Linked DNA regions of Homo sapiens: regions 1 and 2 are each linked to region 3. The links are contacts of gene promoters, found by promoter capture Hi-C in human tissues and cell types (Jung and others, 2019). All regions are on one chromosome and are shown on one strand. The core of a region is centred on a gene start or on the middle of the fragment in contact, and the rest is flanking DNA. Distances in the headings are between cores, read along the strand shown.

The links. Contacts are between HindIII fragments. The study calls those that stand out against the background at their distance.
Region 1: a fragment that was not itself captured here is called in contact with the fragment with the promoter of ADAMTS9 in region 3 in 1 of the 25 tissues and cell types used here (H1 embryonic stem cells).
Region 2: a contact is called between a fragment that was not itself captured here and the fragment with the promoter of ADAMTS9 in region 3, in 1 of the 25 tissues and cell types used here (heart left ventricle).

The regions. Positions count from the first base shown.
Region 1 is chr3:65,342,993-65,347,498 of GRCh38, forward strand. No RefSeq gene overlaps it. Among named protein-coding and RNA genes, the nearest start is that of LINC02040, 170 kb to the left of the region's middle. The HindIII fragment of the contact is 6,006 bases long and covers 1-4,506 here.
Region 2 is chr3:65,422,815-65,427,167 of GRCh38, forward strand. The region is part of intron 12 of MAGI1 (membrane associated guanylate kinase, WW and PDZ domain containing 1); the gene reads right to left. Among named protein-coding and RNA genes, the nearest start is that of LINC02040, 250 kb to the left of the region's middle. The HindIII fragment of the contact is 4,148 bases long and covers 56-4,203 here.
Region 3 is chr3:64,685,478-64,689,696 of GRCh38, forward strand. ADAMTS9 (ADAM metallopeptidase with thrombospondin type 1 motif 9) reads right to left here and starts at 2,523. Exons shown (of 40, transcript NM_182920.2): 1 at 2,066-2,523; 2 at 1,091-1,491. The coding sequence starts at 2,180. All of the region lies in intron 1 of ADAMTS9-AS2 (ADAMTS9 antisense RNA 2), which reads left to right. RefSeq lists an enhancer at 1-91. The HindIII fragment of the contact is 6,670 bases long and covers 1-4,219 here.

The DNA.
Region 1 (4,506 bases), core at 1,114-3,613, 660 kb after region 3:
TCTCTAATTTACCTGTTGGGGTTTCAGGGGTAACAACTTGAAGTCTTCCCTCACTACTAAGGGATATTAATTTCCCTTGGGGTGTTTTCCTCTTCATCTCACCATTAAAAGAACCTGAAAATAGCTATCACAAATGAGGTTTGCATTTTTCCACTGCTGACCATGACTGCTTATTCCAATATCCTTCCTCCCGCCGAACTGCTCAGGTATGTGAGACGGCAGGCAGGATCAAAGCCACTACTCGGGTTAAAAATTGCCTAATTTGCCGAATTATAATAGAACTCAGAGTGGACTTCCTGTCTTCAAAGCACCTTACAAAAGTTAACTAATTAATCGTCATAACACCTTGTGAGGTGTGCATTATTATTACATTCAAGGTGAAGCTTTAGTTAGTGGCTGAAATTTAAATAAGGCCACTTGATAGAAGTAACCCAACTGAAAATGTAACCAAACATAGAATGGCTTTGGATTTCACAAACTGCTCTCCAAGAATCCTGTATGTTATGACTAAGCAATTGAAGACTGCCTCAGCAGCCATTGGAAACATAGAAAAGGAAATCGTTTACTGAGATACCCGCTGTTTCAAAGAAGCATTCAAATCAGCAATTTCGGAGGGATGCAGACTTACCTAAAATTACATGTTCTGCAAAATTAAGATGTCAACGTTCTTTGAAATTATTCTCCCAATTGCAAGGCCCCAGCAAATCTTTATCATTTGGCTTAGAGCAGAGTTTCTCAACCTGGGCACTGTTGACACCTGGGGCTTCATATGGTTTGGCTCTGTGAGCCCAGGCAGATCTCACCTTGAATTGTAATAATACCCATGTGTCAAGTGTGGGACCTCGTGGAGATAACTGAATCATGGGGATGGTTTTTCCCATGCTTTTCTAGTGAGATCTGATGATTTCATAAGGGGCTTCCTCCTCTGCTCGGCTCTCATTCTTTCTCTCCTGCCACCCCGTGAGGAGGTGCCTTCCAACGTGATCATAAGTTTCCTGAGGCCTCCCCAGCCATGTGGAACTGTGAGTCAACTAAACCACTTTTCTTTATAAATTACCCAGTCTCAGGTATTTCTTCATAGCAGCATGAGAACAGACTGATACAGAGCTGGATCATTCCTCATTATGGGAGGCTTTCCTGTGCATTGTAGGGTGTTTAACAACATCCCTGGCCTCTACCTACTGTATGCCAGTAGCCCACCAACCTCTTCCCCAAGTTGTGACAATGAAAATGTCCGCAGATATTGCTAACTGTACCCTGGAGGCAAAATTGCCCCTGAGAACTACTACCTTAGACAAGAGGTCAGAGTATTTCTCTCCAGTATTGCACATATCCAGAGAGCCCCTGTAGATTTAAAAAAAAAATGTTTTTGTCTTCCCTGAGCCATTACTCTGATCCAAATGAACAAAGAATTTCAGATTTTCCCATGACATGAGGGGACGTGGGTGAGCCAGCACAGAGGGTCCTTAAAGATGCACAAAATGGTAAATGCTGAATTTTGGTAACTGGGTGCTACTCACCCAGACAACTCAGTCTGCATAGCGACTGGAAAGAGAGCTGGAGGTGTCTGCCTGGGGCCCAGAACTTTTTAAATCCTCCCAGGCTTCCCACTGGCAATGCTAATTTTCAAGGAAGGCTTGCATCCCACACAGGACATTTCTGGCCTTGCCTGCCTCCTCCAACTTTGCATCCTCAAATGCCAAATTCTCCCACTTTGTAGCTTAGCAGGCAGAGAAGCAGCTGAAAACCCTGCGGGCTATTGAGAATGAGTAATTGGATATCAGCCTTAAAAATAATCAATCCCTTCCCCCCGCATCCCTTCCCATCTCCATTTCCTCTCTTGCCTCCCCCTACCCTCAGAGGTAAAGGAAATCTTAATCACTTTTAGACCAAGGAGGCAAAATCATACTATATTAAGCTTTTTAAGAAAAAATGTAAAGGAATTTATCCCATGGCAGACAAAGTACAAAGTATTAAAGTATAGGAGATACATACATCTGCTATGTACTAAATTACCCCCAAAATTCATATGTTGCAACTCTAATCCCCAATGTGACTGTATTTGGAGATAGGGCCTTTAAAGGAGGCAGTTAAGGTTAAGTGAGGTCATACGGGTGGGGCCACAATGTGATAAGACTGGTGTCTTTATAAGAAGAGGAAGAGACCCCAGGGGTACGCACAAAGGGAAAAGGCCACCTAAGGACATAGTGAGAAGGTGCCCACCTGCAATTCAGCAAGTGGGCCCTCACCAGAAACCAACCCTGCCAACACCTTGATCTTGGACCTGCAGCCTCCAGAACTCTGAGAAAATCCATTTCTGTTGTTGAAGCCACACAGTTTGTGGTATTCTGGTATGGAAGCCCTAGCTGACTAATATGCTATAGAACACAGGTGACCCTCCATATCTGCAGATTCGACCAATCGTGGATCAAAAATATTTGAGAAAAAAAATTGTCTACTGAACATGTGCAGACCTTTTTCTTGCCATTATTCCCTAAATAATACAGTATAACTATTTACATAGCACTTATATTGTATTAGGTATTATAAGTAATTTAGAGATGATTTAAGGTATATGGGAGGATGTAGGTTATATGCAAATACTACACCATTTTGTATCAGGGACTTGAGCATCTTTAGATTTTAGTATCTGCAGAGGGTCCTGGAACCAGTCCCCCATGGAGACCAAGGGATGACTGTACAATTTAGCAGTTAAAAAAAAAAGGCATAGATTCAAAAGATGAATTAAGTGGGAGAAAATAACACCACTGAACAATAGGTACATTATTATGCACTTGTAATTTTAGAACCCCACAGACAAAAAACATACACACACACACACACACACATATGCTTTTGTGCATTAGCAGATATCCTGACATGTCTGGAAGGAGCGTTCCAATATGGCAACAGTGGTTAGCTCTGGGAAGAGACTGGAATTGAGGAAGGGAGTGGTTAAGAGTTTTTATCTTACACTATTTGGACTTTTTTAAAAAACCAAACTAACGTAGTATGCATTACTTGCATCGTAAAACAAAATATTAAGGGTTTTTCTGTTTTGGGTTTTTTTGTTTTTTTGGTCTCAACTGCTCTTCTTAGTCTTCTCAAAGCCTGAATCATGTTCTTGGTGACACCCACATCAGGCCCCTCCTGAAAGTAGCATAAAATCATAGAGAATATGGCATTCTTTCTGGTTTAAATTCTATAAATGGACCAGACCATTTCCCACTGTTTCAGTGTAACCATCAATGACATAGTGGGGGAGGGGCACGAAGAAAGAACAGTTTCCTCAAAATCCAAAATAAAGCTCATTAATAGGAACAAGGATTGAGACATTTTAATTATCCAGGCATGCGCCTGTGGAATTTCTCATCCATTTTAATGGAATCCAGGAAGGGAGAGGGAATACATTTTTAATAAAAATAAAGAGTGAAACAAAAACCAATCCAGACAAAATACACCAAAGTAACAAAAATAACCCCCATGAAATAGATTTCAAAAATAAAACTGAAATAAGTTGAGGGGAGAAAACATCATCAGCCAGACTCCTGGGGTGATTTCACAGGGCCCGTGACAGTGCACAACAATTTTGCACATCTAGCTACAGGAAATGGTTCCCGTGTTACAAGTTTCCAATAAGACCAGTTAAAAGAAAGCAACTGGAAACAAAGGTACTCCCAGCCCAAATGTGTTCTCTGGAACCCAATTGTTGGCCCTGGTAGGAAGAATAAATAAAATCTTTGCTTCTTTCTAAAAAGGAGAGGAGCACATCATTTTCCTTTCACATAGTTTGTGGTAATTCTAAGAGGTTTTAGGATGATCCACATGTTGAATGTGGGTTGTTCTCACTGCTTTTTATTTTAGCAATGGGGAGGGTCATTTGGTCCCCTCTAAATAGCTTTTTTTTTGTCTCTCCTTTCTTCCTCTATGGGAATAGGCAGTGAGTTTTTCTCCCTAAGGCTCACAGACATATTTCACTTCTTGCTTCTATTTCTCCCCATGGCTATGGTAGATCTTTAGTCTCATGGGCCTTCCCTCCATGCCTGGAATAAAACACACACCCTTGGCCATGAGGCCTTTGCTCAGGTCTTGCTTCCTCCTTGGAAAGAGCTCTTCCTTCTTGCCTCCCTTTTTTCTTCTATCAAGATTAAGTCCTCCAATTACAGACACTCAAGGGCACCACATACACTCCATAGCTGTTACCACAATTTAACTCAATTATCCAATGTCTGTCTTTCCTGGCAGATTCTGAACTTCAGGAAGGCTGAAGTTTTATTGCTTTTGTTTGACGCTGAGTGCCCAGCATCAAGCCTGGAAAATAATACTCAGTACATATTTGTTAACAAACTGCTTTGGCCTGATTTATATTTTTAGAAGACAATGGAGTGAGTTAAGGTCAGCTAAGGTATAATTTCCCAGGGATAAGTGGAAAATCTAAATCATAAAATTCCTCCTAGAGGGGGTGGCTATAGGGAGGACTGTCAAATAGATGGGTTGGAGAGATAG
Region 2 (4,353 bases), core at 880-3,379, 740 kb after region 3:
TGTGGCTACCTGGGAGAAGAAAAATACAGACAGAAGGAGATGTAAGTGCTAGGGCCCTGACACAGGACTTTGGAGTTCACGCTTAATGATGGGAAGCTATTCTGACATGAGGAACTGCCTTGATCTGATGTACTTTAAAGCACTGTAGCTGGAGGGCAGACTGGAGGAAGCACTGAGACCTGTTGCGAGGCCACTGCAAGGCCAGGTGCCCTACAATGGGTGGTAAAGGCCAGGGATGGGGTGAGATGTAAACCAAGTTTGAGTACACTGAGAAGGGAGAACTGGCAGTATTTGCTGATGGGAACATATAGGACCCCAACATTATTAAGATATCACTCTATACACAACCTGAATTCCCCTTTCTGGGGCCCTACAGCTCAATCTGAGACATTGTGGCAGTCAAGCACTTAAGCAGTACAATGTACAATTCATTCTCTGGTCCAAGACCAGAGGGCAAAGAGGAGAAGTGCCTGATCACTTGGGTTTAACTCTCTGTGCATGGCTTACCGTGGTTCTAATTATGATGGTTTTGTATCATTTCAGAAAAACACACGTGCGTGCACACACGCGCACACACACACACACAGAGAAGAGCTAATGCTAATGATGCACTTAGCTAACGAGATTAGATACTGCTTTCTCTGTTTGGATCAATGACGATTTAATGAACTAAATATCATCAGTAAATTTTGATGAGAATTAAGAGGCATTACTTTGCCCACAGACTTCAGGCTTTACTCATTTCTTTATGCATAAGATATAGTCTTCAATAATTATGGTACTGGAGCAATTTCTTGCCTGTAAGGCAGGAGGCTTTTGGGCAGAGTGTTTAAGCACTGTCTGGAGCCAGTCTTCCTAGGTTCCAATCCTAGCTTTGCCACTAACCAGCTAATTTGGGTAAACCACAGAAACTCCCTGGGCCTCAGCTTCCTCTTCTCCAAAATGGAGCTAAGACTGTATTTACTTCAGAGGACTCTTATGAATTATGATATGTAAAATGTCTAGAAGCATGCCTGGCACACTGTAGAAGCATTTATTGTTTTCATTCCAAATCTTATGCAGGTTTTCCCAACTAAAACAGAATTTTCTCCTTTGCTTTATACTAATTTATACCAAATTAAGCTGTGGGAAAACAAAAACAACTCCTTCTTGTATTTTGTCCTAGCATAGAAGCTAACAATCACTGCCTTCATTTCACAAGGATCCAACCCATCATCACATTGCAAATTGGTGGCAGTTTCAATGTGGTTGCAACAATGAAGTCTTGAAAGGTTTTATTTACCTTCTTGGGCATGTGTGTGTGCATGAATGTATGTATGTGTATTGCATGTATCATGGTAACACAGCTTGAACATAGTAAGTACTCAGGAAATGACAGTAGTGACATTATCATTACCATCACCACCACCATTTTCTTATCTAAGTTTTGCCTTTTAACTCTCATTATCATTTTTCTAGAGTTACAAAGTGTGCTTATAAAGCTAGAGGATTAATCTTCCATTGTGACTGGTGGATCAAGTTTAATTTATTCAGCTATGACTTACTGAGACCTTATCACTTGCCAGGTTCCCCAGGAAGTGCCAGAGACACAAGAGTAAGAGTCAAACACATTACTGCTCTCTAGGAATTTTAACATTTCATGAATGTATAATCAGACCCTGAAATTATTTAGCGGCCTGACCAAAGTATTCAGTATATGGTCTGTGCAAACTAGAAAGGACAATTTCACTTCCATTACTGTTGTGATCAGCAAAAGCCAGTGGGAGATGGCACTCTAAATGAGCATCTCCAATAGCAAGTCCCCTTTCTATTCTCCTTGGAAGTAGAAAAATGTAGAATGTGGGAGCTGAAATGGACCTTAGGGAAGACTGAAAAGTCTGTCACTTACAAAACAGACTTTAAAAGTTGAACATTACTCAGAAACGAAAATATTAAAATAAGCTTTATAAACTTATTTTCATCCAACTTATAGGTCAAAGAATCAAAACTAGAAGGGACCGTAGAGGCAGAAGCCTAACATTTTTTGCAACTCTGGTTGTATATCAGAATCACCAGTGGTACCTGGGCAACACAGTGAGACCCTGTCTCTACAAAACAATTTTTTAAAAGAGATTAGCCTCACAAGATGGCACATGCCTGTAGTCCTAGCTATTCAGGAGGCTAAGGCAGGAGGTTCATTTAAGCCCAGGAGTTTGAGGTTGTGATGGGCCATGATCATGCACTCCAGCCTGGGCAAAAGAGCAGGACCCTGTATCAAGAGAAGAAGAAAAAAAAAACCTACCAGTAGAACTTCTAAAAAAAAAAAAAAAAAAAAAAAACAAAAAAAAACACACATGCCTAAACATCATACAATCTGTACGGCCCAGCTAGAACTTTTTATAAAAAATAAAATATTAATGCTTCCCCACCCAATTGCCACTATTGCTTTATCATGTGATGACTACTACGTCAGGAATTGGCACAAATGCTACCTTATTTAATCTATGTACATCATGCCCATTTTTTTCAGAAGTCTAACTAAGCTCAGAGAAGGCAAGTGACTTGCCTAAAGTCACAATGCAAGTAGAGCAGAAGCCAGGATTTAAACTTGCATCCTCTGTCTCCACAGTCCTGTGGTCTTTCCTCTATACAACAATAAGGTCATCCCTTGCATAAAATTTGAGCCAGAATGGAGTGCCTGAAAGATTCTCTAGCTCAAAACATTCATCTTTTAGATTAAAAAAATAAGTGTCAGGGTAGAAGTAGTACCCTTCTGAAGCATATGCAGAAGCTTACGGGCAGAGTTTGTACTCAAGGTCAGCTCCTGGTATCCCAAGTTCAGTTTTCTTTTTAATACATGCCTTCTCTCAAAAGTAAAACATAGGATCTTCACTTGCATACAGTGCTGCCAAATCTTTTCTTGAAACGGAGTGTTGTGACTCAACATGAAATTACATTTTAAAGAGTGTCACACCTACTGATAGGTGTGAATTTGCCGAATATCCAAAATATTTGACACAGAGGGGCACAGGTAGTTACGCTATCTACATGAGCCTTTTTTAAAAAAAGTAAAAAATCCTTATGGGACAAGTTCGATAGCTTTTACAAATTAAAAATAAAAATCCACAAACTAGTTTGATTTTCCAAACACTTCAAAGAAGTCTCTAGATGCACACTGATGTCAGGTGACAGGATTTCTGAATGCAGATGCTATGTTCAAAATAGAAGGGTAAAAAGCACTTTCCTGACTGGACAGCAGAGGGAGAAGGAGTAAGGACACACAATTGGAAGAGGGGAGCCAGACACAGAGAAGAACTGCCCTTTAAAAACCTGAGTGATCGACTGGCAAGCAGGGAGATGTTGATGAAGAGGAGATTTGTAAGCAAATCAGGACTGGTCCCGGCTACTTGGGAGTATGGATGAACACTGCACAGCAGCTCTAAGCCTGACTCAGGAAACTGTCTGACCCTGGACATTTACAAATGATATTTCAACCTTCAGCTCGATTTCCAGATGAGGGAAGGGGGATGGACTAAAACTACTAAAAATGAAATGTATTAGATCTTGACAAGAACAAATGTCAAAAACGAGCTCTAGAGATGAGGAATTAAAATGGGTGCTACAAACATAGCAGCCAGTTCTGTCCCAAAGTAAAAATGGCCCGTTCTTTAAAGCATAGAAAGCCACAACCTCACGACAGGAATTCCTGAGACTCATGGAACAGTGTAGATGAGTTTATCAGTCATCTTACTAGCAGTTACAAAATAAACTAGATTCATTAGAAAGAATCGGTAAAGTGGGCATTTACTTTCTCATTGAACCTAGCTGTTGTCTTGAAGCACCTTCATCAAGCCTTCTCATTACATCCCCACTATACAGAAGAGATGATTAAATGTCAGCCCTGATTCAAGCAACTAATGTATGGCAGAAACAGATATATTTATATGCCTTCCAGAAAGATTAATAGTATCTAGTGCTAGCCTGCCAACTGCAGATGTACAAACTTTCTATCCTATACATAAATCATACACAAGACATATGGTGTATTTTAAAGACTGCTGATGTCACAGTGATTTTAAATTACTCATGTTCTGAAATAAACCATGTAGATGTTGATGAATATGGCAATATATTCCGGATTTTTCATATAAATGTTATAAAATGTAACACCATTAATGAGAAGATGGCATTGGGAATTAAGAAGAGAGAATGCAAACATATTTAAAATCAAGGAGTATAGTCAGGTGTGGTGGCTCATGCCTGTAATCCTAGCACTTCGGGAGGCCGAGGCAGGTGGATCCCTTGAGCGCGGGAGTTCGAGACCAGCATGGGTAACATGGAGAAATCATTTCTACTGAAAATACAAAAATCAGC
Region 3 (4,219 bases), core at 1,273-3,772:
AGTTTCTGCGTCACACGCGCGTGGCAGAAACGCACGTCGCTTGGGAAAGTCAAGGACCACCCTTGCTCGGGCCAGAACCGTACCGCAGCGACTCCTCAAATGTCGTGGAGAAGTGGGGGGCAGATGCCTTGTAAGATCCACTGGAGGGCACATGCGGGGGTCGACAGAGAGTCGGGGAACCAACGTGGATTCCCTGCTAAATGCTATTTGGCAGCGCAAGAAGGCGGCCTCCCCGCCCTGCCTCAGTCCCTAGGGAAACGTGCGCCGCAGGCTCCCTCTCTCCACTCCCTGGAACCCGTGAGTAGTAGAAACCCCAGAGGAACCGAAATCACGTCCGGACAGCCTCTCCAGGCTGTCTCCCACTATCCCGTTTCTCCCGGCCACCCCGCCAGTAGGGTGCAGAGTTGGACTGCGCTGCACCCCCACTCTCGGTTCCACCCCAATTCAAAGCGTCCGGGGTAGGCTCCGCCTTCTCCCCCGCCCCCAGAGCCCTCGGCCCACCCTTCCGTTCCTGGGACGGGACCTGCTCCCTGTCAATCCAGTTCAGCCTCAGGGTTCCTGGCGCGTGAATAAAGGCCCTGAGAGAAAGCGGGGACTCTAGATTACGCACCGCCCTCCACAACACACACTGAAGGAACTCCCAGTGCCTTGGGCAGGGGATCCTCAGCCCCACATCCCCGATGCAAGGCGCACCAATAAGGAGTCTGGTCCGCCCTGCGCTCAGCGGCTCCGCTCCCGGGTGGCCAAGTTTGCTGCAGGGAACCGCAACTCCAGTAACTTTCTCCGAGTTTGGAAACTGACTTCCAGGCCGCCTCGCAGCGTTGGGCAACGCGCCGCTGAACCGAGTCCAAACTCCAGAAAGCTCTGAAACATCCAGAAGCCCCTGGGGGCGGGTGTGTGCGCTCCACGCCAGTGTACTCGCACGCACAGAGCTAGCTACCCAAACCATACGAGTTTCTAGCTGATATTTAACGCCGGAGAGGAGCGGAGCCTCGCCACAGTGAGGGTCTCTAGGCTTAGAGGACAATTAAGTCTTCTAGAAGCGGGCGAGGAGGCGGAAGGGGAGAGGAGGTGGCGCGCGCCCACTTACCATTCCTGAGCAGAGGCTGATGACGGCCGTGTGCTCGGAGTTGGTATTGACATAGCCTTTGTAGAAACAGTGCTTGAGTTCCGCTTCCTCTTCGGAATAAAACTTGGTCTGATTCACCCCGGGCGTCCCGAGGAGGGTGACAGTGAACAGTGGAGCGATAAATCCGGCATTGGCGGTGAGATTAAATAGAAACTGCTGGCCGAAGGCAGAGAGGCGGTAATGCGCCTGGGAGGAGGTAGAGGAGGAAGAGGAGGAGGCGAAGGCAGGCCAGGGGTCAGTGGCAGAGTTAATGCTCCGTCGCGTTCTTTTGAAGTGGACGTTCGTGGGAAAGGGTTCTCCGAGAGCGTTCACTCGGATGGGAGACACGATTTCGTATTCGCTCAGGGTCTCTAATAATTTCACTGCGGAGAGAAGCAGAGGTATATGAACCAATAATTCATTTTTCCTTAAGCTTTAATTTAAAACGAAGGTGGGGACTTTGTTCTGACCTTATTTTCCAGCCCATTCGAGTCAATCCCTTCACCCTTAATCAGTGGACAAATATTTGCTGAGCACCTACTATGTGCCAGTAACAGGACCTGTGCTAGGTGCTGAGGATACACTATTCCGAGCCAGACAATTAACAAGTCAAAATATATATGATTTCAGATATTGATAAATAACCTGAATAAAATAAAACATGACGCTATCTGGTGCCCCCAATTACTAAGTTACTTTAGTTTGCGGCGTGGGAGTGGGGATGGGGATATATCTGGCAACAGCAAGGTAGGGGGGGGTTGCCTAAATTCGTTTCCATAGTGTCCCTCCCTAGCAATTGGTTGGGGATGACCCAAAGAAGGGAGAGGCTGCAAAGCGGGAGATAATTCTTTCTAGGAAAAGGAGAGAAGCCTCCGCTGCGGGGTGCCCCTGCCCAGGAGCGAGGACCGGGAGGCGGCGTCGGGGCCGGCGGGGTCCCGGGGGCCGGAGCCTGGTTACCTTGCCTCGGGTGCAGCCTGTCCTTGCGCACGGCCGCCGCGGCGTCTGGGCTCCCCATCTCGGCCAGGTCCCGCACCAGGAGCGTTAGCAGTGTGGCCCAGGATACAAACTGCATGGTGCTTCCCACCCCTCCCTCCGCTGCCCCCACCCCCCTCCCTCCTGCCCTCCTTGGCTGCGGCGGCGACGCGAGGCAGCGGCCGTGGAGAGCGCGCGGAGCCCGGCGCCCGCCGCCAACTTTTGACTTTAGGAGTCGCTGAGGTCTCGCTGCGAGGGTCCCGTCTGCGCTCGGCTGAGCAACGCCGCCGCCTGCCGAGAGCTGAGCCGCTCGGGCCGCAGGAGGAGCCGGAGGAGCAGGAGGAGGAGGAGGACTGGGGCTCGGCTGCTTGGCCGCATAATGCCCAGCGAGCGGGCAGGAGAAGGCGAGGAACTTGCGCTCCGAGGCGCGCCGGGCGCCCTGTGCTGGCCGGGATAGCTGAGCGGCTTCTTGAATGGGGGGCTGGGGGGGCGGAGGCGGGGGGGCCGCGGGTCCACAGCCTCTCAAATGCCCCCGGTGCACGCCTCTAAGAGGAGGAGAGGGGAGGAGAAAGCGAGACGAACGGGGACCGCCTCCTTCCAGACCATGTCCCCTCCTCGGCCGGCCCGTGCGGGACTCGCAGCCGGAGGCCCTGCCGGCTGCAAGAGGCGGAGGCCAGAGGCGTCACCAGCGCCGGGGCAGCTGTTCCTGGTCCCCGCCACCTCGCTGAAGTGGGGTTTTCTGAGATTCCCTGCCCCGGGGAGGGAAAGCAGGGAAAGTTCTCTCCCTTTCCTGGCGCGCGTGCAGCCACTTCCCCTCTCGTCTTTTTCCTCTCCTCTCCTCTCTCTCCTCCCTTCCGAGTCTCTTTTTCCTCCTCCCCCTTGTCTCTCTGCTGCTGTGCCTCTCGGACTCTGTCCCTTCTCCCCATTTTCCCCTGTGATGTCTGTCTTCTCCCCGCCCCACCGTGTCCCTGTCTGTTTCTCACATTTCTCCTTTTCCTTTCCTTTCTCTTCCGTCCCCATCTCTTGCCACCAGTCCCCATCTTTTGGTTTCTTACAAGTGAAAGTGGCCCAGCGCCGGAGCGCCTTCCCTTCCTACACTTTTTCATTCGGGAAGAGATTTGGCACCTGAGCTCCGCTCTCGATTTAATCACCCCAAGTCAAGAGTTTTAGAAATGGGGTTCTTAATCCTGCAGGTCGGAGTGTGTTTCTAATACGTGGTCTCTTGAAAATTTCGCAAAATATTTAAGCTGTGCTTTCCACCAACCTCTGTCACCATTCATGGAGGGTCCATAGCATTCTGTAGGTCCCCTGCCCCAAAAAAGGTTAAGAACAAATTTTGGCAGCAAGAAGGGGCGGGGACTCTGGCGCCCCTCACTACCAGGGGGTTTAGAGATGGGAGGGGAAGGGGGGATGGAGTGTAAAGTTGTAGATCCCTGTGGGAGGCACCAGTCCCTGGAGGGATTTCTCAATCACTTCCGCTTGCTTTCAGCCTGAGAGATGCTTGGAAAGACTGGGAAAGACTGAAAGCAGGCGCTTCAAGCTACACCTTCGTGTGTGTGTGTGTGTGTGTGTGTGTGTGTGTGTGTGTGAATTGTTCAATCTTGGGTGGTTCAGTGGCGCCTTTTCTTTAACCAGCCCTCAGGAAGATAGAATTTCAAGATAATTTCAAGAGGAAAGACATGACAATATCGTTAAAAATATATAAATATATGACTAATAAATATATATTTGCCCAAGTATCCTAGAACGGGGGTTGAGGTTCTGTTGCGTGGTAGGTTAGCACTCAGGACTAGAAATACCAAAGATTGCCAACACCAGGAACCAAATCGCAATATGCTAGCAATGTCAACTATTCTTGAGATACTAATACATATATTTCTTCTGGTGAAGGGTAAAAATGACTTGGCAAGACGAATTTGCTAAATAATTGTTAACCCAAATTGATAATGTTACCATCGTCTTATTACTGGAATTTCATAATGGATATGTAAAATGTAAGGATGGAAAAATAACATCTGTATTGTGCACAATTAGAGATTTTTAGAGAATGGCATTTAAACCTTGAACCTCCAAATTAATTCACTAAAATACGTTTCTTCTAATACACAATCTTTCTTTTTATTATAACAACATTCCCCA